Regions from separate parts of the Homo sapiens genome. Here regions 2, 3 and 4 are each linked to region 1. Evidence: promoter capture Hi-C in 16 types of primary human blood cells and fetal thymus (Javierre and others, 2016). All regions are on one chromosome and are shown on one strand. The core of a region is centred on a gene start or on the middle of the fragment in contact, and the rest is flanking DNA. Distances in the headings are between cores, read along the strand shown. Region 1 holds the start of LINC00158 (long intergenic non-protein coding RNA 158). Region 2 has its middle 12 kb from the start of MIR155HG. Region 3 has its middle 35 kb from the start of MIR155HG. Region 4 overlaps LOC105372753 (a long non-coding RNA gene).

Evidence for each region. The method cuts DNA at HindIII sites, captures the fragments that hold promoters and counts their contacts. A CHiCAGO score of 5 or more calls a contact.
Region 2: a contact is called between a fragment that was not itself captured here and the fragment with the promoter of LINC00158 in region 1, in 2 of 17 cell types (activated CD4 T cells and M1 macrophages). The highest score is 11.7, in activated CD4 T cells.
Region 3: a fragment that was not itself captured here is called in contact with the fragment with the promoter of LINC00158 in region 1 in 1 of 17 cell types (activated CD4 T cells); the score reaches 6.4 in activated CD4 T cells.
Region 4: a fragment that was not itself captured here is called in contact with the fragment with the promoter of LINC00158 in region 1 in 1 of 17 cell types (activated CD4 T cells); the score reaches 5.6 in activated CD4 T cells.

Annotation. Positions count from the first base shown.
Region 1 is chr21:25,429,991-25,433,699 of GRCh38, reverse strand. LINC00158 (long intergenic non-protein coding RNA 158) reads left to right here and starts at 1,999. Exons shown (of 5, transcript NR_024027.2): 1 at 1,999-2,522; 2 at 3,691-3,709. The HindIII fragment of the contact is 1,417 bases long and covers 597-2,013 here.
Region 2 is chr21:25,548,022-25,551,730 of GRCh38, reverse strand. No RefSeq gene overlaps it. Among named protein-coding and RNA genes, the nearest start is that of MIR155HG, 12 kb to the left of the region's middle. RefSeq lists an enhancer at 81-140. The HindIII fragment of the contact is 517 bases long and covers 1,833-2,349 here.
Region 3 is chr21:25,525,277-25,528,985 of GRCh38, reverse strand. No RefSeq gene overlaps it. Among named protein-coding and RNA genes, the nearest start is that of MIR155HG, 35 kb to the left of the region's middle. The HindIII fragment of the contact is 4,628 bases long and covers 1-3,709 here.
Region 4 is chr21:25,508,897-25,512,605 of GRCh38, reverse strand. LOC105372753 (a long non-coding RNA gene) reads left to right here. Exons shown (of 10, transcript NR_188560.1): 4 at 61-273. Among named protein-coding and RNA genes, the nearest start is that of MIR155HG, 51 kb to the left of the region's middle. The HindIII fragment of the contact is 4,446 bases long and covers 1-3,709 here.

The DNA of each region.
Region 1 (3,709 bases), core at 750-3,249:
AGTTCAAAAATTATTGTCCCAGAAAATCTACGGTAAAGTTTTAATTTCTGGACCCTAATTTCTACGCCCCATTTCACATCTAGCTTCTCCTCATTTAGCTACACAGGTCTTTTGTGTTCTCCTTGGTCCAATCATATGCTTTCTGGCCATACAATCTGTTCTGTTTACTTGCCCCTCTCCCTCCCACCCCTCATTCTCAGGACACTATTCTCTTTCAGAGAATTTACCATAATTGGGATTTATTCATATAATCCTTTGATTATTGTCTGTGTCCACCTGTCAGATCAGAAATGCCAAGAAGTCTTAAAGGGCTTGTGTTTCTCTTTTCCTTCACTATTGCATCTCTGTTGTAGTAAAGTGCTGGCACATAACAGAAACTCAACAAATGAAGGCATTGTCTCAACCAATGCTCACATCAACCCTACCTCAGAAGTATTTTCATTCCTCAATTTCCATGTGCAGCCAGAGAGGTTGATTTGATTCATCAGCATGCCCAAGACTGCACAATCAGTAGAAGGAAGAACTTGGAACTGAAAGCAGGTCATGCTGTTTTTACTCTTCCACACTACATTTTAGACCTCCCTGTTTCTTAAGCTTGGGGGTGGATAACAGGAACCATGTGACTATCCTACTCCACTCCGTCCTTTTTTGTTATTAAATTGTACTGGAAATTTGGGCTTTCAGTGATTGTATTTTTTTCTGAACATGCATTTTTTTTTTAGAAAAATGAACTGACTAGTTTTTTTTAAATGAAATATGATTAAGAGAAAATAATCTCTGATGGGCCCATAACCAGCAACTTTGGATATTTTTCATTAAGTGGAAGAAAAATATAGACTTTGGCAATTGAGACGATCTTCATTAATAAATAAAAGGATTGTTCCAGATGTGCTATAAAATAAATACATTGAGAAGATGTGAAAAGCAAGAGGGTTTAATACACAGCCAAAATTTTAGTGTCTCTATTGGTAATAATCAGAATAACTTGTTTGATTATACCATTGTGATTTAGTTGGATCACATAATATGTTGGTATTTGGCCATTTGGGGCCATGAAACAACATTTTCTTATGGTTCAATCCCCAATAATGGGAGATTTTTCTCTCCCTCCTCTGTGTCCCAGGAAATGCTTCATTTCCCATGAGCCCATTGAAAAGAGGCTGACTTAGGTTGAATTTGCTGACAAGTGTGTTGGTTCTTCTTTCTTCCCCATTTCTATATGTTTGTCCATCTTCCATGTGGAAGCTGTGGACTAGTTAGAGGTAATCTGCTACTTGATCAAAAAGGATAAAGAAGTTCATGAAACTTCAATGACCTCTGTACTTACAAGTCTCTTTTAGAGAAAATGGCCTGAAGCAGCATCTTCCTGCAACCTTTTATATGACATTTACTCACATTGAGTGAAAAAAATGGGTTCAATGGATTGGACCAGAAATCAGGAGGTAAAGTGTACTAGTGAGAAGGAGATGAGAAATCATGTGAATTAAGAGAGATGATCTCAGTTTCTGATTTTCCAGTTCCCAATATATTTATAAGAGGTCTGGGTGTATTTTATTTTTCACTTTTGAATGTCTATGAAGTTGTCCTTTATAGTCTTCCAGCAAAAATGTTTTTATTTGCCCTCATTTGGGAAAACTTTTTTCATCACTGAATAATCCCTGACCAGCACAAAAATTAAATGGGGGTAATGTCATGTATATAATATAAACTCTTAAAGATAATGAAATACATCTACTTAAAAAGAAAAATGTTCTTTCTCTTGTGGAACTTAGGTTTCAGAATGGAAGTGTATTTTATATTGGCCAATTGGACTGGCTGTGAAAGACCAGTAACCAAGCAAGAGAAGTAGATGTTGCTTTAATGAGGTATAAACTATATCTTGTTAAATAGGTCTTATCTTAGACAAGTAGTATAAATGCACACCCAAACATCATTCATTTGCAATACAGAGGCATTTAGAAGTGATTCACATGGATTTTTTCCTTTTATTTTTGGAAAGGATTAATCTAAGCTTCTGCTGTGTATGGACCTGTGGCTACATTACAAAATTCAGTTGTGAAGCTATAAAATCAATTAGTCTAGACCTCAAATCTTATTTCCTATGAAAAGCCTCAAACTTGTAGCTGTATGAACAAGTGTTTTTGGAATTTTTTTTTTTTTGCTAGAATGGAGAGAACACACTGGAGATCACAAATGCATTTATTCTTTTTCACCAACTGTTTCATTGGCCTTAAAAAATACTAGGCTAAACTTAAGTGGTAAAGATCTGAAATAAAAAGATGCATCTTTATGTCTGAACAGCAATTTTTCATAGGTCTCTAATAACTTGCATTTCCTTATCTATGGATAAGGAGATCTGAAATTGATCTACATTTTCTTTAGTAATGTTTTCTCTGTTTATTGAGAACAGATATCTTCATCTCCTTCATGCATTATCCTTAGTAACAGATGTCAGTAGGATCCAGAGCCATTTTGGAACTTTACCAAGGATTAAGGATGAGCACAGATCACATCAAGAGTCTGTAAGAAGACAGTATTTCTGATTTAGACCCATAAAGACAGTATCTCATAATTGTGAGCAAAGATTGCATGTGAAGGATTATATTTGTTTTTCCTGACAAGATGTTGCATACTATGGAATGTAAATTTTTGTGATGATTGGAGAGGAACTGAGCTCCTTTCTAGCTCAGTTTCTTTCTAGCTCAGTCCCTTTCCAATCACCATAAAATGGAAGCACAAACCTTCAACAAAATATATTCCTTAGCTGAGCTTGAGATTTTGCATAGCCTCTCATTTATTCTTTCTAGAATCAGTAAAGTGCATTAGGATTCAGAAGACTCCACTTGTTCTATTTGCTCTCCATTGCATTATGACTTCATCAGGCACTGCTATCATGGGGCACTGGTAACAAATGTATGTACTTTCTAAATACTTACGATGTAGTAGCTAGGTGGCTACATGTTGGGCAAAATGGGATAAGACAATATCATTTTAACATGCTTCAAGTACTATGTCAAGGTCTTACTATGTACTATTTCATTTTAATCCTAAAAAAAAAAAAACACTCAGAAGAAGGTATGATCGGGTATATTTTATAGATACAGAGGCTAGAGTTCAGAGACATGAACCTACCTGGCCCCCTCTGCACATAAACAATTATTAAGTAAGTGGATGTTTCGGGAGTCAAATCCAAGTTTATTTTGTTCCAAATCTGCTTCTCTTAATTAATATATTCTACTGCTTCCAGATACCATTATTTACCTTTAAGTGACTGAGATTCTAATGATACTGGTAAACCTGTTAGTAATAAACCGAGCAGGTTACAATGAAAGAAAGTATAGACTCTAAGAGGCTATAGAGAAGGCACATAAGCTGGGTTGACAGGATGAGACAAGGCATTCTGGAGAAGGTAATTGTGGTGGGGGAGTAACAGGCAACCCACAGTGATGGAGGGCAGCCATATTTCAGTCATTGGGCAGGGAGTGTGCACATTCTGGAAACAACACATCATTTTTGTAAAGTTGGGACCTAGAGTGAAAATACGGGAGTGATTGAGGATGAGAGTAAAGGGTAGGAGCCTTGTATGGCATCATTTATAGCACCCTTAACAGATTGAATTTTTCTATAAATCAATGGGAAGATGTTGATGATTTTATGAATACGAGTAATATGATTAAATCTGAATTTTAGAAATATCACTTTGGAGGCC
Region 2 (3,709 bases), core at 842-3,341, 120 kb before region 1:
GGCTGCTCTGCCTTCCCCTTCCATTATGATTGGAAGTTCCTGAGGCCTCCCCAGAAGCAGATGCACCATGCTTTCTGGACAACCTGCAGAACCATGAGCCAATTAAACCTCTTTTCTTTGTAAATTACCCAGTCTCAGGTATTTCTTTAATAGCAGTGTGAGAATGGACTAATACAATATTGATTAATAAAATTATATTGACTTATGAATGCCCCTACTTGAAGAATAACAGAAATTGATTTTCAGGGTGGCAGCTGGTAGAACTCTTGATTTATATGGTCAAATTTATTTCTCCCTGATCTTGATCATCTCAGTAGTTGCTGCCACCTTCTACTTTATCGTTCGGGCACCTGTTATTTCTTACTTTCTGTCACTCCACATATCCAGTTCATTAAGAATTGTATAGACTCTACCTCTAAACCATGGCCTGATTCCACCTACATCTGTCCATCTCTACTGCTACTACCCTAGTCCAAACCACCATCCTCTTTTGCTTAGACAATTGTCGTGCTTCCTTCCCTTTTCCTCCCATAATGCATACATAGCCAGGGTGGTCTTTTAAAAACCTAACTCTGATGCCACATTCTTACCTGAAATTCTGCCATAGCTTGCCATAGCACTGAGGATAAAAGTAAACTCCAACCTGATCTGCAGTTTTACAGCATCTGGGTCCCACTTTACCCTTCAGACTTCATTTGTGCATTTTTCATTTTTACTATATTTCAACCGCAGTAGCTTTAGTTGTGTTCCTGGAAATTAATGAGCCTGGCTCTGTCTTAAGAATTTACATGGTAATAACCACGGTGTTCCTTCTGATTTTATATTCTGTAGGCAGTAAGAGGGCAGTTTCTGAGAAAATCAGCAAACAGAACTGTGGGAGGAATACTTTTGCTAACTCTAATTTTCTATGGTAGTAAACTTCCCTGTTGCCAGTAAAATGGAACTGCCCATAGTGGTTAAACCGGGTGAGAAACGAACCATACGTGACTTAAAAGTAACATAAGCTCTTTAATGTCTCTTTACAAATAATTTCACCTCTTGTTGAGGACCTGATGATCCAAAGGAGACCAAGGATAAGTAATGAGAGAGATCTTAGGAATATAGCTTGATATAAATCAGAATCTTGTTCTACCACAGATACCTTCTTCCTCAAAGCAGAGCAAGCAAATATCCACGGTGCCGGATCATCAGGCCCCAGGGCTCAGGTCACCGCTGTTGCCAGTATGGGTCCTCCACTCTAGGAATTAGCATATATTACACAGCGGGAATATAACTGGAACCCCAAAGAGCCGTTTGATGTTCGGAGATGTAAATTATCTTTCTGTTGGGATAACCTCATTTACATGAAGTGATCATTTCCTCAAAGTTTGGTGCCCAAGTGTTCAGTTTTCTGAGTACCATCTCTTGGGTAGTGACAAGATAATAGATGTATTACTAGCTTTCTCTCAATGCCAGTGTAAGGGAATTGGGTACAAACCCCAGATGTTTCTTCTCATCTTCTAATTTAAATGCAGGTTCCCAACGTGATAATGGGAGAGCCTCCTAGGTTTGTGATATAGTTTGGATATTTTTCCCTGCCCAAATCTTATGTTGAATTGTAATCCCTATTGTTGGAGGTGGGGCCTATTTGGAGGTGCTTGGATCATGGGGGTGGATCCCTCATGAATGGGATGGGACATCCCCTTGGTGATAAGTGAGCTCTCGCTCTGAGTTCACATGAGATCTGGTCATTTAAAAATGTGTGGCACCTCCCCTGACAGCTCTGTCTCTCTCTCGTGCTCTACCATGGGATGTGCCTGCTCCCCATTTGCCTTCTGTCATGATTGGAAGCTTCCTGAGGCCTCCCCAGAAGCACGTGCTGGTGCTATGCTTTCTGTACAGTCTGCAGAACCATAAGCCAATTAAACCTCTTTTTTTTTTCTGAATTACTCAGTCCCAGGTATTTCTTTAGAGCAATACAAAAATGGTGAATACACTGTGTGCTCACATGGAGGGTTACAAATTATTCTGGTAGGAAAGGTCTTTGGTGTTTCCCACACCATACACCAACACCACACTGCTAGAATGTCTTTAGAAGGCAATGTCACACACACAAAAGTTCTAATTGAGGTACATCCTCAGCAGGGTGGCTAACTGGATAGGCACTGCCTCACACAAGCTGCTCATCCCTGGAATGTCATACTAGGCTGTGGTGATGCCACATTGTGTTGGCAGTTTTATAACAGGATGCTTATTTTATATCTATCTATCTATCTGGATATATAAAAGGCCATATCTGGATAGGTCATCTATCTGGATATATATTAAAGGCCATTTGTACACAAATGTTCAGGTAAATAACATTAAGCTTGGAAAAATATATCTGAGATCCCAATTAAAAGATAAAGATGGTCTAGACAGGCTCCCACTTTATTTTCTCTGAAAAATAGGCCTAGATATGAAGGCCTGGCCTTGGCGCTCTATCGCTTGGATGCTTTGTCCTATCCCTGGGGTGTCTTTAGCAAGCTGCAAGGACCAAAACGTGAGGTTTACAGTTAAAAACAAATCCCAAGGTCCTGTAGCCATGCTCAGGAGCCAGGAGTTTTTTCTTGGAGGAAAGGAATGGTCAGAGCCTTCGTCTGGGGAGAGTGGGAAGCAGGGTCACTAGGACAAGCCCAGGCTGTCAAGTGCTACCCTGCTCCTAGTCCCTTGCTCTAATGTATAGTTGCTTTTAATTTTATAATTTATTTTATTTTATTTTGAGACAGGATCTTTCTCTGTCACCCAGGCTTAAGTGCAGTGGTACAATCACAGCTCACTGTAGCCTCAACCTACTGGGCTCAAGTGATTGTCCTGCCTTAGCCTCCCTAGTAGCTGAGACTATAAGCATGTGCCACTATGTCTGGCTAACGTTTTGATTTTTTGTAGAGATAGGACCTTCACTTTGTTGCCTAGGCTGATTTCAAACTATAGGCTTAAGTGATTCTCCCACGTTGGCCTCCCAAAGTGCTGGGATTATAGCTGTGAGCCATAGCACCTGGCCAATATATTTTAAACTAAAGTTTATTGTGTGAAAAGTTCTCATGTAATATAGTACTGTATACACACACAGACACACACACAAAAAACTGCTTTATTGATAATAAACAAAATAGCTTAACTATAATAGAAAAGAATCATAACTAAAAATGATCTAAGCCTGAGCTCCACACGAAGAATAAAGAATTATTCTTTATCTTTTATATATCCTACTCAGATAGCAGTTTCATTTTGCATCACCTTATGAATCTTTGATTCTTCAACACCTGTTAACTTAGTGTGTTTATGCTGCCTCTTATGATCCTGGCTTGTTTTAAGTTAAATAACAAGAACTATATCAGGAAGGACTAAAATTTCTAATGATTATAATTTACTGCCTTCTTTGTTCATTTAAAAATATTGCATTGCCACTGTGATGGTTAATTTGATGTGTCAGTTTGACAGTGCCACAGAGGCCCAGATATGTTATGAAACATTATTTCTAGGTAGCTTGTGATGATGTTCCTGGGTAAAATTCACATTGGAATTGGTTGATTGAGTAAAGTAATTTGGCCTTCTCCATGTAGGTGGGCATCATGCAGTCTTTTCAAAGCCTAGATAGAACAAAAAGTGGAGGAAGGAAGAATTTGTTCTCTGACTGATGGTTTGAGCGGGGACATACATCTACTGTCCCTAGATTGAGACTTACACC
Region 3 (3,709 bases), core at 342-2,841, 96 kb before region 1:
AGTTGACTGTACCTCACAGTTTTTGGAGATGATTCCACTAAGAGTACATTTATGTACTACTAATTCCCAAACAGAGTTAAGTGCTAATTTTTGTTTTCCCACAGGATGTTGCCTATAGATTTTAAATAACATTTATTACATTCTTTTACATGTTCATATGTTTATTTCTTCCACTACACCTTTATATTTTGGAGGGCAGAGACTGTGTTTTATTTGTTTATCTCGTGGTCTTGGCATCTGGCATATTTCCGGTTCAGAGCATATGCTTAATGTGGTTTAATGATTTACAAATGAATAATTCATCTTCCTAGTCACTCAGGGAGAAGTCTTGGAGATGACTTTGGTTTTCAATGCCTCATTAACAAATATCAAATTGGCCATTTAGTTCTATCCACTCTCAAAGTATCTTTTATATTTTCCTCCTACTCTTTATCCTCACAGTCATTGTCTTGGCTTTCATAATTGTTTATTCATCCCATTTCAAAACCTCTTGGTTTCTCCAGTTTTATCTTTCCATGGTCTATTCACCAAGAAGATGAGCTTTTAAATGTGTTCATTTAATTATATCATTTCCTATTAAAATCTTCTGATGACTTTCAAAATCCTGATCTGACATACAAGGCTTTTGATGATTTGGCCATTTCCTTGTATGTCCTTATAATGCATCTATATTCTTAATATGTCTGTGTTGAACTACTTGCTCTTCATTCATTTAAACTATGTATCTCTATCTTGATCACAAGGCATTGGTGATAGGCCCTCAGAAAGAAAGATTTATAAGACATGATTTCTGTCCTCATTGAATTCCTAGTTCAATATCAGAGACAGTAATTTTAAAATTATATTTGTTATAATTGATTATAAGAAGAATACAAAAAATTGGAAAAAAATCTAACCCAAATTGGAAGGTGGAATTGTAAGACACAACCTCTGGTGGAGAGAATAGGTGATAGTATATGAGATATCTGAAAGGATAAATAGGAATTTTTCAGGTAACCAAGGAAAGGTAATAGTTTTTGTCAGTTGGAGGGAAACATATATGCAAAGGGAGTGAATGCCTTGTTAGGGAAAAATGGTTGAGTGTGGCCGAGGTACTGGGTATGAGTTGGACAGTAATAAGACTACAATTAATGGGAGAGGCTGGATTAAAAACTGGTGTATGAGGTTAAGAGGTTTGAATTTTATGTTCAAAGCAGTGGAGAGTTATTGAAAGATATAGCATATGAGTGGCATAATCACATTTGTATTTTAGGAAAATAATTCTATTAGAAATCTAATTAATGTATTGAGTGGAGCAAGAATGGAGACAGTGAAGACTGACAATGATCCAACTGGTCAGTTACAAGAACCTGAATAAAGGTAGTGCCGGAGAGTTACAACAGGTATAAATTTAGAAGGTAGAAACTGTAGTAATTGACAACTGACAGTATGGGTCAGGGAGAAGGATGAAATAAGAATGATTCTTAGGTTTCTGGTTTGGGAGAAGGCAAAAATACAATCTATGAAGGAAGTATTGGGAGGAAATTATGCAGTTAGTTTTGATCACATTCATTTAGTTTTGAATCTAAGATGCTTATCACATATCCAAGTGGAGATATAAGACCCTAGTTGGCTTAAATGATCTAGAGCTCAGAGCATTTATTTTAGTTTTTGGTATATATTTTGGAGCTCACTGGCATATAGGCATTACTTGATGCCATGGAGATTATGTAATGTCTGCTAGGATAAGTATTAGTGTGAGAAGAGAGGCTTGTGCAAAAGTCTGAGAACCCCAAACCTTTTTTTTTTCTTTTTTTGAGACTTGCTCTGTCACCCCGGCTGGAGTGCAGTGGCATGATCTTGGCTCAGTGCAGCTTCCGCCTCCTGGGTTTAAGCAATTCTCCTGCCTCAGCCTCCTGAGTGGCTGGGATTACAGGCGTGTGCCACCAGCTAATCTGTGTACTTTTAGTAGAGATAGAGTTCCCTGTGTCAGGCTGGTCTCGAACTTCTGGGCTTAAGTGATCCACCTGCCTTGGCCTCCCAAAGTGCTGGGATTACAGGTGTGAGCCACCAAGCCTGGCAGAGAACCCCAGTACTTAAGAGACAACTGAAGAGGAAAAAGTGGAAGAGCAAGAAAGTTAGGAGGAAAATCGCAAGGGAGTCAAATCTTTTTTTTTTTCTTTAATTGTATGCCAAGCATTTCACATTTTATTCTTGCAATACTCATGTGGATACTGGAGACAGGCTAGGAGTAGTAGGTGTGGAATAATGAGACAGTGAAACTTTTCTGGAAAACATTTTGGCAATATGGGTTAAGAGCCCTCAAAATGTTCATATTCTTTGGCCAAGGAGTTGTACTTCAAGGTGACTATCCCATGGAAAGGGTCACAAATGCAGTTGGTGCTTTTGTTCATATCTTTAATGGTTGTATTATATACTTTAGTATATAATGTAGCAACATTTATGTAATCACCCTTCACTTATTGGGAGTCAAGCCTTAAAAGCCAACTGAGGAGGAAATTTTGTGATGCCAGGAGATGTTCTGCAAAGTCAAGTGCAGCAGGGAAGTTAAGTAACATAAACATTTTAAAATTTTCTTTGAATCCGGCAACAAAATGGTCTTTGGCCAGGCGTGGTGGCTCATGCCTGTAATCCTAGCATTTTGGGAGGCCAAAGTGGGCAGATCACCTGAAGTCAGGAGTTCAAGACCAGTTTGGCCAACATGGTGAAACCCCATCTCCACTAAAAATACAAAAAATTAGCTGGACGTGGTGACACATGCCTGTAGTCCCAGCTCCTTGGGAGGCTGAGACACGAGAATCGCTTGAACCCAGGAGAGAGAGGTTGCAATGAGCTGAGGTCATGCCTCTGCACTCCAGCCTGGGCAACAGAGTGAGAATCCGTCTCAAAAAAAAAAACAAAAAACAAACAAAAAAAACTTTGATGACCTTGACAAAAGTAATGTTGAGAGTCGAGAAAGATGGAAGTAGAATTGTTTTACAGCAGTGTTTTAAAGTGGTTAGAAATTGGAGACTTAAGAGTGTAGACCACTTTTGCAAGTAGGAAGTAGTGTGACATTAAAGAGAATGATGTAGGATAGTAGCTACGAGAAACAAGAAGGTCAAAAGAGAAGGCATTTAAAAAGAAAAACTGGTAAGAATATTGGTATGTTGGAGGAAAAAACCTGGAAAAAGAGAAAAAGGTAGAGATACAGTCAAGAAAGATAATTTAGCAATATCTCTAATGATGTGGGAGGAGAATTAGATTCACATTTCAGAAAAAAAGATTTAATTAACTTTTTTCAGGCAAAAAATAACTAAAGAATAAGAAGGCCTGTTGATGGACACTTAGGTTGTTTCCAAATCTTGGCTATTGTGAATAGTGCTGCAATAAATGTGGGAATGCAGATGTCTCTTCAATATACTGATTTATTTTCTTTTGGGTATACACCTAGTAGTGGTTTTGCTGGATCATATGGTAGCTCAATTTTTAGTTTTTTCAGGAAACTCCAAACTGTTCTCCATAGTGCTTGTACTAATTTACATTGTCACCAATCATGTATGAGGCTTCCCTTTTCTCCGCATCCTTGCCAACATTTGTTATTGCCTGTCTTTGGATAAAATCATTTTAACTGGGGTGAGATGATATCTCATTGTAGTTTTGATTTGCATTTCTCTGGTGATCAATGATGTTGAGCACCTTTTTATATACCTGGTTGCAAATTGTATGT
Region 4 (3,709 bases), core at 631-3,130, 79 kb before region 1:
TTTTTTTAATTGGGTGACATTAAATTCTGATTTCTTTCTTTCTTTTTTTTTTTTCTCTAGGGAGTCGTCTCTCAAGAGGACTTGATCTCTGGCCTGTGAACTGCCCCACATGTTTCTTCTGCACATCCTGACTCCCAGGCCTGCACAGGGGACTTCTGCACAGGCCTGACTCCCAGGCCTGACATTTTCTGGTCTGTCTTCGCCATGGTCTGCTATCAACTGCAGTTTTGAATTCTGGTTTCTCTTATTCTTTGTCTCTAGGCAAGTCAACAGGTTAGCTTCTTCCTCATGTTGAGAATTATGTGGTTAAAATGTAGAGAGTTAATCATAGTGAGTGATTGTACTAAGCCCTTCTATGGTTTCCAGCAGCAAGAAAGAATAGATGTTGCTCTTCTGCTTGTTGTTATGCAGTAATAGCCACTATTCTTACAATTTCAATGTTAGCTCACTCAGTGCTTTGTTTTTCAATGAACTGTACCACAGTTAGAAGAATTTAGAGATGGGTAATGAGGAAAGAGTTATAGAGCAGGGAGTGTGAGAAGCTGTGCTCGTTATTACTTTAAATTTTTACAAAGTGTGCAAAGTAACTAGAATCAAGGAGGCCATTTGTGTTTGCAAGTTTACTGTATATATATATATATATATATTTTTTTTTTTTTTTTTTTGAGACAGGGTCTCACTCTGTCACCCAGGCTGGAGTGCAGTGGCATGGTCATGTCTCACTGCAGGCTCAAGTGATTCTCCCACCTCATCCTCCCAAGTAGCTGGGACTACAGATGTGCACCACCACGCCTGACTAATTTTTAAATTATCTGTAGAGACAAGGTCTGCGTATGTTGACCAGGCTGGTCTTGAACTCTTGGGCTCAGCGATCCACCCGCCTTGGTCTCCCAAAGTGCTGGGATTACAGGTTTGAGCCACTGCACCAGCCTAGGGGAAATATCTTTTTTTCTTTTCTTTTTTTTTTTTTAAAGAGAAAATGCCTGTCAAATAAGCCATTGATCATGTGAAAACAGTGAAGAAACTTTTAGCTTACACTTACATACATAAAATATTAGGTAAAATGTTTCACAAAAGTTACAAAAAATTATTGAATTAATAGCTAAGGAGTTTCAGTGGCATGGGAATATTTTATTGTGCAATTTAAGTACTTTATTGAATTCCGTTAGCAATCATGAGTTTATAATAAATGGAAAAAATGGCCCAAAAACACACTGATGATACAACCTTTCTGAAGTGCTAAAATGAACCATTTGATTCTGTTCTATTTTAATGATATAATACCCATTTTTCTTTACTCTTTAATTCAATAGTCAAAGCAATGTTCATTCCTATTAGTTACATTTTTAAACTTTAATTTTTGTTGTAGACAAAAATTAAACATCTAGAAATATGTAAATTCTCTTACTACAACAAACCAGCTTCAAGGTTCTCTAAAATATAACTATCTACCTCTAAGACTCCAAGGCCACATTTCATGGCCAGGAAGTAGAAAGGTATAAAATCTTCAATGGGCTTTCAGTTCATTTTCCCAGTTAAACAGTATTCAGGAAAGAGTTAAACTTTGAAAATGAAACTAATTGTTGGAACATGATCTCTTTGAAACCCACCCAATTGGCCTTGTTCCTTCAATAAACAGATTCTGTTTGGTGGTGGTGAGGTGGCATTTGATATTAGTGAAAATTTGAAATCTTGAGATTTAGGGAGTAGAGAATAGTTGGAACAATCTGCATTATTTTTCTTTTTTCTCCTACAAATCAAAACTGAACTACGGATTTATGAGGAGCTCTCTTAGGCATTCAGGTGAATTTGATTTTCTTGTTCAGTTTCATGGATAGAACTGCACTGTGGTAATACAACAACAGTTTAAGAATATTTGAATAAATAAGTTACTTCAGCAATTGAGCTCCTGAAATTCCAGATCAGCCATTTGTAAAGTAATTTGCTTATAACATTGACAGCAAACTTAATTAGTAAATATTTATTTATTTAACAGATCTAATATGCTTCTTTACAAATGCATTATATTAGAAAGAGAAAGACTTTTATTTAGAGTCTTCTCTACCCAATTTAAAATACGCTCAAAAGATAAGTCCAGGTGATACATTCAGTGGCTGCAAATGCTTAGATTAGTTACTGAATGTATTGCTTGGACTCATCTCACGGATTCTAGAATTATCAGAAATCTGGGAGCAGAGAAAAAATAAGACACGATGTGAAATATAAAGAAATATGAATGGAAAAGACAATTCATTATTTCATAAAATATTAACAGGGATCTCTATTTAAAGAGTTGTTATTTAAGAGGGAACATGAGCAGTAGAGACAGGGGATTTTTAATTTTTTTTTTTTTTTTTTTGCTATGTTGCAGTAACCAGAAGAATCTAAATCGCTTTCCTGTAATGTTTCAAGATTCAGTGTCATATATTTGACTTTAAAGAAAGCACATGTTGCAAAAAAGAAACCAACATGTATTCTATGCTAAGGAATGGAAGGGTTGGTTGGGGCTTTAAGATATGCTTCAGAGAACATTGTGGGTGGGGAGTTTTTAAATGAAGTATCCAACTTGCAAGGCATTCAGAAAATTTTTATCATGACAGTCCCTTGATTTTAGTAACACATGGGATTTTACACTTTCTCTGAGCAATTCAAGTTTCCTTCTCAGAATCTTTTAACTGTTCAGCCTAAATTGTATCATGTCATAAACTGACAATTTTATGGGCTGAAATATAAAACGCTTCCTAAAATACAGTAGAAATATTATTTTAGGAAGGAAAATTTTTAGTAAGATTTGAAAATTCTTATTTAATATTGTACTTTAGCAAAAGACTTTCTAGGTAGGTAAAACAGATTCCAGCGTGGAATGCATCACTTTTTCTTCCGTATTTGGGAGTGTGTATTAAAGCCTTTCTATAGTAGAAGGTAGATAATCAGAGATTGAATTTTGAAATTAAGTAATCAAAATACCTTCTTTTTATGTAATTAAAAATTCAAGTATAGCAAATTGCATTTACTTTAGTAGGTATTTAGAGAAAAACATAGGACACAAAAATAATAATTTGTTTAAAAATGAATTTTAAAAATCTATGCAAAAATAAAAATTATAGAATTTAAGGGCTCTATTCTGGGAAACCTATCATAGCTGGCCATATTAAAGAATATGGATTATGTACTGATTCTCTTCTAAGTAAAATTTTAAAACATACTTAGTATAAACCAGAGTTTTGTTAGATAAAAACCCAGGTTAGTTTAAGAACCTTATAGTGTAACTGAGGTAATTGGACATTTTGAATAATTTTGTTTCCACAGACCTTTATCTTCCTAAAATTTTACTGAAATGAAAGTGCTGTCTTCATTTTTTCAATTTTTTCAAATGTAAATGCATTCTTAAATATTAACTTTAGAAAAGACTATTTGAATTTTACTCATAAATGGAGTTTTGAAAGAACGTGATCTTACAACCATTGGGCATGAGTCAACACGGCTTTTTGATAAATAAATCCCATTAAATGAATTGACTTTCTAAAAGCTGAAATAATCATTATCATAAATGCACCCCCTTCCCACTTCAAGAAAATTAAAAAAAAACCCTGTCTAGACAGAGTTGCTTATATAGTTACGGTTTGATTTTATAATTCCTGGAATATAGTACGAACACCTACTATTTGCTGGGCAGCTATTTTATGTCAGACACTTTTTCAGAAACTTT